2 separate regions of the Homo sapiens genome follow, and region 2 is linked to region 1. Evidence: promoter capture Hi-C in 16 types of primary human blood cells and fetal thymus (Javierre and others, 2016). All regions are on one chromosome and are shown on one strand. Each heading gives the region's core, a stretch centred on a gene start or on the middle of the fragment in contact. The rest is flanking DNA. Distances are from core to core; before and after follow the strand shown. Region 1 holds the start of ASIC1 (acid sensing ion channel subunit 1). Region 2 overlaps TMBIM6 (transmembrane BAX inhibitor motif containing 6).

Region 1 (6,990 bases), core at 312-2,811:
GGGCTGAGGGAGGGTGGGAGCCACCCACCTGTTGTTGAGCAGGGCCAGCAGCTCCCCAGCATGATACAGGTCATTCTTGGAGACTTGGCTAAAGCGGAACTCGTTGAGGTTGCACAGCGTGACAGCAGGGAAGGTAAGCTGAGAGGCAGCCACCTCGTCGAGCTTGGTGACATGGTGGTAGTGGAAGTAGTACTGCACACGCTCCGTGCACACACACAGCAGCACAGCCAGGGAGCCCAGGAAGCACAGGGCCCACAGTGCCCGCTTCAGAGACAGCCGCTCGTAGGAGAAGATGTGGGCCAGGCCGTGCAGTGTGGAGCTGCTGGCGAAGGCCTGGATGCTCACCGGCTGGACGCCACCCACCTCCTCCTCCTCGGCCTTCAGTTCCATCCTTGTTGAGGGGATCCTGGGGGAGGAGGGAGGGACAGTCTATCATTGTCCTGGGATGAAAGTACACATGGAGCCCCTCCACATGTGCCCATCCAGAATCCTCATCTCCAGAGGTCACCACTCCTCGGGCAGAAGACTTCCCTGCTTTGCAAGCCCAGAGGTGGCTGACCAAGGGACACATCCAGGGTTCCTCCAAATACAGAGGCACAGGGGGTCAGGTCAGGCCAAGAGAATGCTCCCCAGAGAAGCTTCCCAGGCCCGGGGAGACCCCAGATATAGTCATCCGAGGTTGAGGGGGAAGTCCTGATGCACCCATAGGCAGGCGCAGGAGTTCCCTCCAGATGTGGGGTCACTCTGGGACAAGAATATCCACCCCATCCTGGAGATGAAAACTCACCCAGATGGGCTGACCCCGGGGTAAGGAGCTCCTGTCCTGGTCACGGGTATTCCCTGGACGGGGCTGTGGTCCTAAGGGCTAAACTGGGGCCAGAAAACCCCCAGGGAGGTGGCTACATCTAGGGAGGGGCCCAGCCTGAGTCCTCACCTGCGGGTGTCTCCAGTTCTCACATAAGCGCAGGCTGTGTGTATGTTGGGAGTGGGGGGTGGCGGGCTGCCCGAGGTGGATGTATGGAGGGGGGGCGCGGTTCCCTATGACAGCGAGCTGTCCCCGCCCCGGACGCAGCCCCCCCCAGTCCAGCTTCTCGTCGCAGTCAGATCCCCAGCTCGGCCCCCGCCCCCCTCCCCAGCCACCGAGCCGCCCCAGCAGCAAGGGAAATCCAGAGGGAGGAGAGTCCCGGCTTCGGGGTACCGAGGAGCCTCGCGGCCAAAGGCAGGGGTATCGGAAACCCACCTGAGGGGGCTTCGGCAAGCCGGCAGCCGGCGGCGGGTCCTGGGGCGCTGGACCGGTGGCGGGCTCAGCGCCGAGTCGCGGAGGGGCTCATGGCCCGGGGCCGGAGCCCGCGGCCGCCGCGGCACGCCGCGCAGAGCCCTGCAGGGAGCGCCCCGCCCGGCCCCGCTCGGCTCCGATCTGTCCGCCCGCCCGCGCGCGCTGGCTCGCTGGCTCGCTCGCCTCGGCTCGGTCTGCCCGGGCTCGGCGCGGTGCGCGGTGCTCTCAGCCCTGGGATCTGCAGGGATCCATCGTCCGGCCGGGAGGCGGCGGGAGGGGAGGGGGAGGGGAGAGGGTGCGCGTGCGCGCCTACGAGTGTCTGCGAGGCTGTCTCTGGGCTGGTGTGCGCGCGGGGCCCCGGATCCGGGAGCGGGACCCAGGGCTCCCCGCGCCGCCTCGCCCCTCCTCGCGGCCGCTTTCGGCGGCGCTGCCTCTCTCCAGTCCCGGAGCCGTCTCCCTGCCTGCGAGGCCCTATGGCTTGTGTGTATGACTCTGTGTGTGGTGTGTGTGCGCGCGCGCGTGTGTGCGCGCAGGAGGGAGGGTGTCTGCCCCTAGCGTCCCTCTCCCCGCGCTGTCTCCTTCGGATCGATGCTCCTGCCTCTTGCTGCTGCTTCCTCTGGTGGCACACACGCGCGTACACACACACATACACACACACGCTCCGAGTCACACTTGACTAATTCAAGCACTTAGCCCATATGGAGACAGACACACATACCGACCAGAGTCACACCACACCATTCACAACCACACCCCCCCGCAACAGATGTCCACGTATCCCGGGGGCCTGACCCACATGGCAAGCACTCACCTGCTCTTATCCCTGCTCCCACCTGCATGTGACACATATACACGTGCACATATGTGAGCCAACACGCAGCCTTGACCACTCAGATCCCATCCTTGTAGCTTTGGGCTTGTGGGGGGCATGGTCGCAACCCCTTACTGCCAAATCTCCAAAGAAGGAGCAGAGAAAAGGAAGGAAAAATAGCCAGAGGTCAAGGGAATTTGGACAGAAGGAAGGAGGCAAAGGGAGTGAAGGGGACAGGGTGAGGAAGGGTTGGAACGGGGAGCTATGCTCAGGGATGGAGCAGAAGTCTCAGCACAGAACGCAGGCCTGGGGGCTGCTCCTGTGGCTCTCACCTTTCTCCTTCCCTGCCTCCCTCCTCTTCTCTGAGAGGCCTTGGGGAGGGGGGCCCTCCCTATCCAATTAACAGAGAAGGAGCAATCAAGGGGAAGTTGTTAATTTGCTGATGCTCATTAGGGGCTCTTAGCACAGAGGCTGTTGAGGTCTGATGGTGTCAGATGATGAGGAGGAGGGTGCGGGGGACCAGAGTTCTGTCTCTAGTGGCTCCTTCGCTCTACTTGCAGGCTGGTGCGGCTCGGGGAGAAGGATGGTGAGAGGTGTATTCCTAGGACATGGTGCCGGGCTTTAAGTTAGAAGAAAACCTGTAACGAGAAGGGGATGGCACATTGGAAAGAAGTTGGATGAGAAGTTGGGAGTAGTGGACATCTAGGAAACCAGAGAAGGGGTCTGGAGGTCCCTAGTGGGAGAGTGGACTTAAGATTGTGGAGGAGGGAGGTCGAGATCCATTTACTAGGGGACTGGACACGGAGCTGCCAAAAGGAAGGGAGGATCTTCCATTCAGGTCTTGGGGAGCTGTTCAGCGGTACCAGGCAGTGCTGGAGGGTTGCTATGCCCCCGGGCAGCCACTGGGTGGCAGCCCTCTCCCAGATACTTAGAATCAACTCGTGGGGGGCATTTGAGAGTGGGAAATCACCTGGGAGGGTCCCAGAGACCTGAGGAAGCATCAGGCAGAGTCTGATTCCTGAATTCCAAATATCCTCAGGGGGAGGGGAACACTATTTTGGAGCATCTGTAATTTCCCCACCTCCCCGCGGCTCGCAGGCTGACTGACACGTGGAGCCTCTTCAAATGGCTGCAATTGCTTCAGTCACCTGGGATGTTACTGAGGGAGCAGCGGGGGTGGAGGGAAGGTGATGAGGTGAGGTGGAGGCAGGCGAGGACTGATTGAGGCCAAGGAGCAGCCTCAGGAGGAGTCTGGGGGAAGACAGAAGGTATGAATCAGGAGAATCAGCTTCCAGACCTGGCCCTGCCATTCATTAGCATAGGCAGGCCCCTTGACCTCTCTGGACCTCGGTTTCCTCATCTGTAAGGCAGAGATAATATTTATTTCACAGGATTTTTCGAGGATTACATGAGCTAACGCATGGAAAGTGCTTAGTACATTGGCATGTACCTAGTAAATCCCAATAAGTAAATAACTATTATTAGTATTAGCATTTGGATCTAGTGGTAAAACCACCAGTGCAGCCAAACCAGGGCAGAATCTAAGGCACTGGTTCTTAACCCAGGCTGCACATTCGAATCACCTGGGGAGCTTTTAAAACTGCAATGCCAGCTGGGCGCGGTGGCTCACTCCTGTAATCCCAGCACTTTGGGAGGCAGAGGAGGGTGGATCGCCTGAGGTCAGGAGTTTGAGACCAACCTGGCCAACATGGTGAAACCCATCTCTACTAAAAATACAAAAAGTAGCTGGGCGTGGTGGCGGGCACCTGTAATCCCAGCTACTCGAGAGGCTGAGGCAGGAGAATCATTTGAACCTGGGAGGCGGAGGTTGCAGTGAGCCGAGATTGTGCTATTGCACTCTAGCCGGGGAGACAAGAGCGAAACTCCATTTCAAAAAATAAAAATAATAAGATAAAACTGCAATGCCAGCCAGGCGTGGTGGCTCACGCCTGCAATCCCAGCACTTTGGGAGGCCGAGGTGAGTGGATCACCTGAGGTCAGGAGACCAACCTGGCCAACATGGTGAAACCCTGCCTCCACAGAAAATACAAAAATTAGCCAGGCGTGGTGGCACGCACCTGTAATCCCAGCTACTCAGGAGGCTGAGGCAGAAGTGCTTGAACCCGGGAGACAGAGGTTGCAGTGATCGGAGATCGTGCCACTGCACTCTAGCCTGGGCAACAGAGCGAGACTCTGTCTCAGAAAAAAAAAAAAAAAACTGCAATGCCATGGCTCCACTTTAGACCAGTTAAATCAGAATCTCTGGGGCTGTGGCGCGATCTTGGCTCACTGCAAGCTCAGTCTCCTGGGTTCACGCCATTCTCCTGCCTCAGCCTCCCAAGTAGCTGGGACTACAGGCACCCGCCACTACACCTGGCAAAGTTTTTTGTATTTTTAGTAGAGACGGGGTTTCACCGTGTTAGCCAGGATGGTCTCAATCTCCTGACCTTGTGATCCACCCGTCTCAGCCTCCCAAAGTGCTGGGATTATAGGCGTGAGCCACCATACCCGGCCTTTTTTTTTTTTTTTTTTTTTAAGTTGGGGTCTCACCCTGTCGCCCAGGCTGGAGTGCAATGGCACAATCTCGGCTCACTGCAACCTCCGCCTCCCCGGTTCAAGAGGTTCTTCTGCCTCAGCCTCCCGAGTAGCTGGGATTACAGGCGCACACCACGACGCCCGGCTAATTTTTTGTATCTTTTGTAGAGCTGGGGGTTTCACCATGTAGGCTTGAACTCCCGACCTCAGGTGATCCACCCACCTTGGCCTCCCAAAGTGCTGGGATTACAGGCATGAGCCACTGCGCCCGGACAATCGCCCAACTTTTTGAGGCCTTTAACATATAGCCAATCTTGAGCAACCTTGCTCTTCAGAACTTATGGGTCTGAATTATGGTTTCATAGTGTCACAGGCCCCAGTCTTAGGAAGTTCTTTCTTATATACAACCTAAATCCCTCATGCTGTTGTTTCTTCTTCGTTTGAGAAGTGATGGGTCCTTGCACACACACATCCCCTCATCCCTACCCTGTACATCGCAGCAAACCTTCACCGAGGGTTTTCCTGGATCAAGCCCCAAGATTGGCCCTGTGGACATGGTGAGGATTGGCAGAGTCCTTGCCTCAAAATATCCCAGTGTGGAAAGAGAGACAAACATGTTGACTTGTGACTCTAGTGCAAGGGCCAGGAGTGAAATAGAAGGCTGAGCCAGGGCTGCCAGCAGAGAGAGGCAGGGGGGCAGTCACTCTGACAGGGGTTTGTGGGACAAGGATGAGGAAAAGAGGAAGTTGGTGTTGGCAGGGCCTTAGTAAGATAACACTTGAGGGATCCAAGGGCTGTGATTAGTGTCTCATTACTTCTTTCTGCTTCTCTGGCCCACCCACCCCTTGTCCAAGTCCTGACAGAGGATACTGGCTCCTTCAGCATCCTCCCAGCTTCTTCTCCATGCTTCGTTTTCTCTGGACCCTGCAGTCCTTAGACCTCAGTACCCTTTATCCCCACCACGGACTGAGAGGGAAACAGGCCTGAAGATATTTCTCCTTCTGCTGGCAGGAGGCATCTAGCCAGGGCCCACTTAGGACTTTGGCCTTGTGCTCACCTAGGTTCAAATCTCAGCTCTGTCACACCAGTGCTGTGTGGCCCTGGGCAAGTAACCTAGCCTGAGTCTCACTTTTCTCCAGAAACCATAAAACCCAGCTAATGCCCATGCTGTTGAAACAATGTGTGTCTAGCAAACAGTAGGGGGTGTTCCATCAATAGTGGCAAGCATTATGATCATCCCTGAAAGGCTGATGGGGGCAAATTCCCCATGGATGCTTCCCTTGCAGATGGCCCCATCTGCTTTAGGTGCAGAAGCGCCCTCCAGCCTCTCAGAGATGGGTGAAGAGGGAGGGTAAAGAGGGGGACAAGACCCCCTGGGATTTCCAGGCAGCTCTTCTCCGCTCCCCCGTGCATGAAATCACACGCGCCCCAATCTGTCTGCATCCACTTCATCTGCCGGCTCAGCAAATGCAGAGACAATTAAGGAGTTAATTAGCACGCACTGGGAAGGGGCTGGGGACCTAAGGCTGATGGGACCCAGCAACACAGCCTCCCCACCCTCCATACTCAACGTTGTCCCCCCACCACCTGCCAACCCATAACCCTCATCTTTTCCACTGCTTTCTCTTTTTACTAGTCCAAACACTCCTCTTACCCCACTCCCACACTTACCTGCTATCCTCACCCTTTCTCCCCCACCTTATGCTATCCTGTCTCTTTTCTCTCATTCCTCTCTCTAATCTCTTCTCTCCTCCTCCACTCAGCTTTTCTCCCTTTTCCCACTCAAGTCTCTGTCTTCTCCATCCTTCTAGGACTCACCCTTTCCTCCTCCCCACTTCCTCCTTCTAATCTAGCCCCCTCTTCACTCCCCATCTCTTCTCCCTCTCCTATTCATCACCTTTCCCTCTCCAACTTGAATATGGGTCTCAACAAATGTGCCTGTCCACTGGTTCATGAACATGGGGCTCTGTATCTGCTACAGGAGTCCATGGGTTCCAGGTTGCCTGTCAGGCAGGTGTCTGCCTCTGCAATCCTGAAGGAGTGATCTCTGGTCCTCACCGTTCCCCAGCACCTCTCATTCCTGGCTCTCTCGGTGTCTCAGGCTCTCTTTCTTGTGCCAGTGCATCTCTGGGGGGCTCTCTCCCCATACTGCTGCCTCTGTCTGGGTCTCAGCAGTTTGTCTGCACATCCAGGACCATGTTGAACCCTTCTTTTTTCTCCCCAATTAGGGGGTTGGGGGACAGCAGATGGCCACCTTCCTTCTATGGCACATTACAATTTGTGTGTCAACATGCCATTTGGGGGAGTCAAGACTTCAGAAGGGAGGGATCATTAAAGAGACAATAGGCTGGGCATGGTGGCTCACACC
Region 2 (6,990 bases), core at 1,757-4,256, 300 kb after region 1:
CCTGCCACTTTGCCTAATTTTTTTTTTTTTTTTTTTTTTTTGGTGTATTTAGTAGAGATGGGGTTTCACCATGTTGGCCAGACTGGTCTTGAACTCCTGACCTCGAGATCTGCCCACCTTGGCCTCCCAAAGTGCTGGGATTACAGGCATAAGCCACCATGCCTGGCCAACTTTTACATCTTTATTAACTAATGCACTTAGAATACAGCCGGGCAGCAGTGGGTGAACAAAAATACTTGCAGAATGAGTGGGTATCATTTGCCTTTTTTCCATTATGCATCCTCAAACTCCAAAGCTTGGCTGCACATCTGAACCAACTGCACATATCACCACAAACAACATATAGCAAAGGTGGCAGGGGGTGGAGAGGACTGGAAAAAAAACTGGCTTACATATTTGACAGAGAAAATTCTCAACATTTGTGGCATGCTGGGGCTACAGAGTGGGAGGTCTTTGTCTCTGTTCATACTTATGACACGAACTCAATCGTGTCCCACTCCCAGCCCCCAGTAGCAAACCCTGGCAGTATCACAAGCTCCATGACCAGCTGTACCCTTGAATTTAACACAAACACCAGGAAAGGTTAAGGAATTTTCTTTATTTTTTACAAATTAAGACTATGCAGATTTCATATATTTCTGAATCAAAAACACCTTTGTCTTCACAGTATGAGTTAGAATGCAGCCTGAGCTGAAAATCAAGAAACTAGAAAAGAAAGTGGTAGAGATAACTATATTAAAAATCTGTTAGGTATTTTCTTTAAAAGTAGGTGTTTTTTTTTTTTTCTTTCTTTTTTTTTTTTAATATCTTGTCATTCTTGGCACTGTTTCTAAAGAAAAACTCCATTATCCCAAGCAAAAAGCACAGAAGGTGGAGTTTGGCTTCAAGAGATGTTAACTCAAAATCTTAGGCCTAGCAGAGAATCACCAAATTTATGGAGAGTTAACAGGGGTTTAACAGGAAGGAAGTGCCTTTAGTAAGTTCTCAAGCCAGAGGCTGGAGGCAGCAGCTAAATCAGAGGACAGCATCCTCAGTGAAAGTGAGCCATTCGGGGTGGCATGTCACTCCAGGAATAAACACAACTTAGAAACAAATGATTTCGTAGGATAGCACAGTGACATGGTGCACTGTGAACCTGAGGCCACTGTGTCAAACTGTGCACTGGTTGTGAATAGGGAGAGCCAAAAATTATGTCCTACTGGTAATGAGCTTTCAATGGCTCGATCCTCTCACACTGAAGCTCTGTAGAGCAGCTCAGAGCCACAACCACTCCCAACATTGACCCTTCTGGGGGTAGCTGTCTGTGGCAGCCCACAGGAAGGAGCTGGAGATCCCCATTAGGACTGTCCACCCACACTTGAAGCCACAAAACTGCAGGGATTGGGGCTCTCACTGGTTTGGTCGCCTAACTCCCGCCTAAAAGGCCACAAATTTCTGGAAAACAGGTAACAGACCAAAAACTAAAGTGCATCAGTAAAATGAACATTTATCTACTGCCCCGAATCTCTGGCTTGACACTACCTACTGGTGTCCAGTTGGAGACAGACTAAAATGCACTGAAGGACTATTAGGATTGCTGCCTCCTAAGTTATCACAGCCTCGCTCTGTTGATGTGAATGAGGAACTGCTTGGTTGTTAAAGGAGATTTTGCTCCCTGCTGCCCCAAACAGGTCCTTATCTAGGTTTGCTCCCCACTGCCCCAAACAGGTCTGGCAGGATTGGTTACAATGATCTCCAGAGGCTCAACCATTCCCCTTCCCTATCCTTGCTTGGGACATTTAATCACAGCCACCTAGTAGAGGCCGCTCAGTAAGGGGATAACAAACTAAAAAAACAAAAACAGGGCAAGTTTAGGGGAACCCTACGATGCTGTACCTTGATACACATAATCAGCCTTTTCAAAAATGCCTGACAAGAATTAGTCTTTCCTTTGTGCTGAAGTCTTCCCACCCATGGATGGAAGCAGGCTGACTCCCTGAGGGTCAGGCAAGGGGTGGGAAAGGGAACACATTACTTTTGTGAAGGCAAAGCAGAAAGGTGTGTTTGCCAGACCAGCATGGGCAGCTCAGAGGGAGCAAAGCATCCACCAGAAGAGGCTCTCCATTTTCTTTGTAGGGCCTGACAGTTGAGATTTGAGGCTGAGTTAACAATGGGACCACTGAACTTCTTTCCAATGGAAAACTCACGGCCCAGTCCCACAGGAACTGTGCGCATACCAAACAACAATGAGGAAGGAAGGGCCGGGTGGCTCTACCAAACAGTTCAGGTCCACTGGGTGAATGAAGCCTGGTGGGAAAGCGGACTCCTGAAGTTGGCGCCCTCTGCTGGTCCCACTTCTCATCGTGGCGGGTCGACTGCCTGAGTAGAGGAAGAGGCTACAGATGGGGTTGACAAAAAAGGGAGTGAGGGGAACCCCAGGAAGATGAAGCCAAACTCCAAACTATATTCTGCTAATCAGTTTTTTGATCAAAAAATTCAAAATAGAGGAAACCACAAAGTACAAAAGCTTTTCTGATGCTTTTCATTATCACAGAACACACCACCTGTAATGTGTGCAAAAAGGAAATGAGGGGTGGAAGGAGAGGAAGTCTAATTGGGAAAGGCTGGATGGTCACTTCATTTCTTCTCTTTCTTCTTATCCTAGAAATGGAGAAAAATCACCCAATTAATTTTTTGACATTTGACATTCAAGCTAAAACTCTTGAGTGAGCATTTAGTTAGGGACTAGAAGTGAGCCAGACAATTAAAAAGAAATGAGAAATGCTTCCTTAGCTCAGCAAGAACTGAATCTTAACCACATCCTACTGGTGGTTCCCAAAGTTGCCGACAGACCGACCAAGAATAAAGGTTAAGCAGCTGTCCCCACCCCCACCCCAGGAGTGCCGAGGTGGGCTGCCTGACCACTCTAGGCTATTCACAGCCACTACAGCTCAGATCCCAACAGTGAAGGCTGCAGATGGCACTCTATCCTCAAAGAGTGAAACTAGAGGCCAAGACCACCAACCAACCATTAGGCGCGAGAAGTGCTCCACCCTGCAAAGTGAGCATGACTCTGGCATAAACTGACATTCAGAAATAATTTGGTCCAGCAGAATTCTTCATTCAATCTTGGATGGAAGCCCAATGTATTAAGGAATGAAAATTCAGTTGCTTGTTCTGAAACTTGTACATCTGCCTAGTGCTCAGTCCAACCATGGCATAGCCCAGACAGAGCCAGCAATCCTATCTGGTCAACTACTCCCGCTACCACTATGCTATCTCTAAGCTCCATAAGGTCTATAAAGAAAAGCTCATTTCATTTGTTTCCCCCACTGCTTGACTCAACTACGTTAGATACTCATTAGCCCTATATAGAATGCTTCCTTGGAAAAAAAAATTAACAAATGGATAAAATTAGTCTACTTCTGAAATTTACAACGTCCTCCACAATACCTTTCTCTGAGTCACAACTATATAGCCTTTAAATTATTCATGTAGCAGGTTGTGTTTACTGCCACTGAAGCTTTTTTCCCTTTCATACTAAACGCAGGAATTAGTTAAAAAAATTTTTTTTTCACTTGCTGCTTTTTTTCTAACAACTGAAGACTTCTGGCTTACCTCTTACTCAGTGGCCTGCCTTACAGTTACCCTGGACCTAACACAGTGTGTGAGCAAGTTTTCAAATCTGAAGTATACACACATGCCAAGCTCAGGAGCCATTATTGTCTCATCTTTGGGTTGTAGGCTAACTAACCTTTTCATTCATGGCCAGGATCATCATGAGTTTTCTGAAGACAGTAATGAAATCTAAGAAGAGATCAATGCAGTGCCTGAAAGGCAAGAACCAGATTAGGATCTGTACTTCAGACTTTTTTATCCACAAGCCCACAAAGATGCAGAATATAAACCCCACCCCTACCCCCACGAGCCAGCTTCTCCCACACTTTACCCCCAACTAAGGAAGTAAAACTCTGGTGTCTGAGATCCTTTAGACTCATCGAAGTCATGCAGCATAGAGAAAAGAGACTGGGCCAGGCACAGTGGCTCATGCCTGTAATCCCAACATTTTGGGAGGCTGAGGCAGGTGGACTGCTTGAGCCCAGGAGTTCGAGACCAACCTGGGTAACATAGCAAAATCCCGTCTCTACAAAAATTAGCAGGGCATTGTGGCATGTGCCTGTAATCCCAGCTACTGAGGAGGCTGAGATGGGAGGAACACCTGAGCCCAGGGAGCTTGAGTCTACAGTAAGCCATGACAGTGCCACTCTCCTACTGCAGCTTGGGTGACAGAGCAAGCCCTGTCTCAAGCGCTCTGAACTCTGCAGAGGTCCAAGTCTGAACCCTTAACTACCACTAATTAGTCATGAGACTGAGAGAATCACTACATTAAAAAAAAAGTGCCGAGCACAGTGGCTCACACCTGTAATCCCAGCACTTTGGAAGGCTGAGGCGGGCATCACCTGAGTCAGGAGTTTGAGACCAGCCTGACCAACATGGAGAAACCCCATCTCTACTAAAAATACAAAATTAGCCGGGCATGGTGGTGCATGCCTGTAATCCCAGCTACTCAGGATGTTAAGGCAGGAGAAACACCTGAAGCCGGGAGACGGAGGCTGCGGTGAGCCAAGATCACACCGTTGCACTCCAGCCTGGGCAACAAGAGCGAAACTCCGTCTCAAAAAAAAAAAAGTGAGCTGGGCATGGTGGCCCATGTCTGTAATCCCACCACTTTGGGAGGCTGAGGAAGGCAGATTGCTTGAGGCCAAGAGTTCGACACCATGTCCTCACGGGGCAACGTGGCAAAACCTCGTTCTACTAAAATTACAGAAATTAGCTGGACGTGGTGGAGAGTGCCTGTAATCCCAGCTACTAGGGAGGCTGAGGCACAAGAATCGCTTGAACCCAGGAGGCGGAGGTTGCAGTGAGCTGAGATGTTGCCACCGCACTCCAGCCTGGGTGACAAAGCAAAACTGTCTCAAAAAAAAAAAAAAAAAAAAAAAGTGGCTGGGCATGGTGGCTTAAGCCTGTAATCCCAACACTTTGGGAAACCAAGGCAAGAGGACTGCTTGAGACCAATCTGGGCATATGGTAAGACCCCATCTCTACAAAAAATAAATTAGCCTGGCATGGTCGCACGTGCCTGTTGTCCCAGCTACTCAAGAGGCTGAGGCAGGAGTACTGCTTGAGCACAGTAAATTCAGGCTGCAGCGAGCTGTGTTCATGGCACCACACTACTGCCTAGGCAACAGAGCGAGACCCTGTCTCTAAAAAAAGAGTGTATCTTCTACTCATTGTTTAAAAAATACAGAAGTATAAATAGGAAAAGGAGAAAGATCTCTTTCCCTCACTTCTGCTTGGAGGTAGCCACTATGGATATGTAAATATATAGCCACCCCCCAACACTTTTTTTTTTTTTTTTTTTGAGAAGGAGTCTCGCTCTGTCGTCCAGGCTGGAGTGCAGTGGTGCAATCTCCGCTCACTGCAAGCTCCGCCTCCCCGGTTCACACCATTCTCCTGCCTCCGCCTCCTGAGTAGCTGGGACTACAGGTGCCCGCCACCACGCCCGACTAATTTTTTGTATTTTTAGTAGAGACAGGGTTTCACCGTGTTAGCCAGGATGGTTTCGATCTCCTGACCTCGTGATCCGCCTGCCCCGACCTCCCAAAGTGCTGGGATTACAGGCGTGAGCCACCGTGCCCGGCCCCCACACTTTTTTTTTTTTTTTTTTGAGACAGGGTCTCGCTCTGTTGCCAGGCTGGAGTGCAGTGGTGCAATCTTGGCTCACTTCAACCTCCACCTCCTAGGTTCAAATGATTCTTATACCTTAGCCTCCTGAGTAGCTGGGATTATATACATGTGCCACCATGCCCAGCTAATTTTTTTATATTTTTAGTAGAGATGGGATTTCGCCATGTTGCCCAGGCTGGTCTCAAACTTCTGAGCTCAAGCGATCCAGTGGCCTCAGCCTCCCAAAGTGCTAGGATTATAGGTGTGAGCCACCACACCTGGCCTATTAGCCCAGATTTTTAAAAAATCTGAAATCTTTCAGGAATTGAGGAAGATTATGGTACACAGTTCCAAAACCGTGGGTTTCCTACCACATACACTCCCAAAGCTTGGCCACCTATGTTCAGCCAATGCCAACCTAAGTTCAGCTGCTGAACGGTATGCCTCAACCTTCATGCTTGTTAAAGACTAGTTCCCACACTCACCAGATATAATCTTGATCTCCATGTTCGGCCTTTTCAATAATGAGTTGAGTATCAAAAAGGACGAAGCCACACATGACCACCAGTCCCACATACAGGTTTGCCTAACAAATGTAAGAGATGAAGTTACTATACAGCAGAAGTTGCAGAGAAAAAAAAACCAGCCATACTTTCTGGCTCATAGTCACTTGAAAGTACATCAAATGTGAACCCTATGAACATTACCATTCACGAGAACTGCAGCCTAGGGTGAAGACCACTTTACTTCCCTAGGCACAATACTGCACTGGTCACTGGAAGAGTTTCAATCATTTTAACAATCAGCCACTGCCAGACTGGCCTTACACAAATGGTGTCTGAGCAAACCATTTTCTCTTAGCAATGCCCAACCTTGTGCAGCCTGTTTTCACTTGTGGCAGAAGGCTCCATCCTATGAAGGATAATGGGAAGGCTTAGAGAGCACTGCCCAAAGTAGTACAGAAAGAAGTGCAAAAAAAAAAAAAAAAGGAAAGAAAGAAGTGTGAGGCAAATGGCTGCTGGAAAGTTCCAGGCTAAGTCTTACCTGGAAAAGCCAAATGGATCCAAAGAAAACATTCCCCAGGGAAGACAAAAGCAACAAGCTCAGGGCTGACATCAAGATACCTATAAGACACAGCAAAAAGCTGTCTTGAGAGAAGCCAAGGCAAAGTAAAGCAATCCCATTAAAGCCATTCCTTAACTTCCCCCAGAATGAAGGTTAATCTCAACTCAATAGTCGCAAAGGAGTTAGGGGTAAGGAAGGAGTACTAGTGAGAATTCTGGC

What was found. The method cuts DNA at HindIII sites, captures the fragments that hold promoters and counts their contacts. A CHiCAGO score of 5 or more calls a contact.
Region 2: a fragment that was not itself captured here is called in contact with the fragment with the promoter of ASIC1 in region 1 in 1 of 17 cell types (M0 macrophages); the score reaches 5.5 in M0 macrophages.

Annotation. Positions count from the first base shown.
Region 1 is chr12:50,052,167-50,059,156 of GRCh38, reverse strand. It overlaps ASIC1 (acid sensing ion channel subunit 1), which reads right to left and starts at 1,561. Exons shown (of 12, transcript NM_001095.4): 1 at 1,241-1,561; 2 at 29-406. The coding sequence starts at 390. RefSeq lists silencers at 1,359-1,528, 1,599-1,758. The HindIII fragment of the contact is 9,166 bases long and covers 641-6,990 here.
Region 2 is chr12:49,758,523-49,765,512 of GRCh38, reverse strand. It overlaps TMBIM6 (transmembrane BAX inhibitor motif containing 6), which reads right to left. Exons shown (of 10, transcript NM_003217.3): 7 at 6,751-6,830; 8 at 6,192-6,292; 9 at 3,734-3,809; 10 at 579-2,640. The coding sequence ends at 2,617. Among named protein-coding and RNA genes, the nearest start is that of TMBIM6, 20 kb to the right of the region's middle. The HindIII fragment of the contact is 996 bases long and covers 2,509-3,504 here.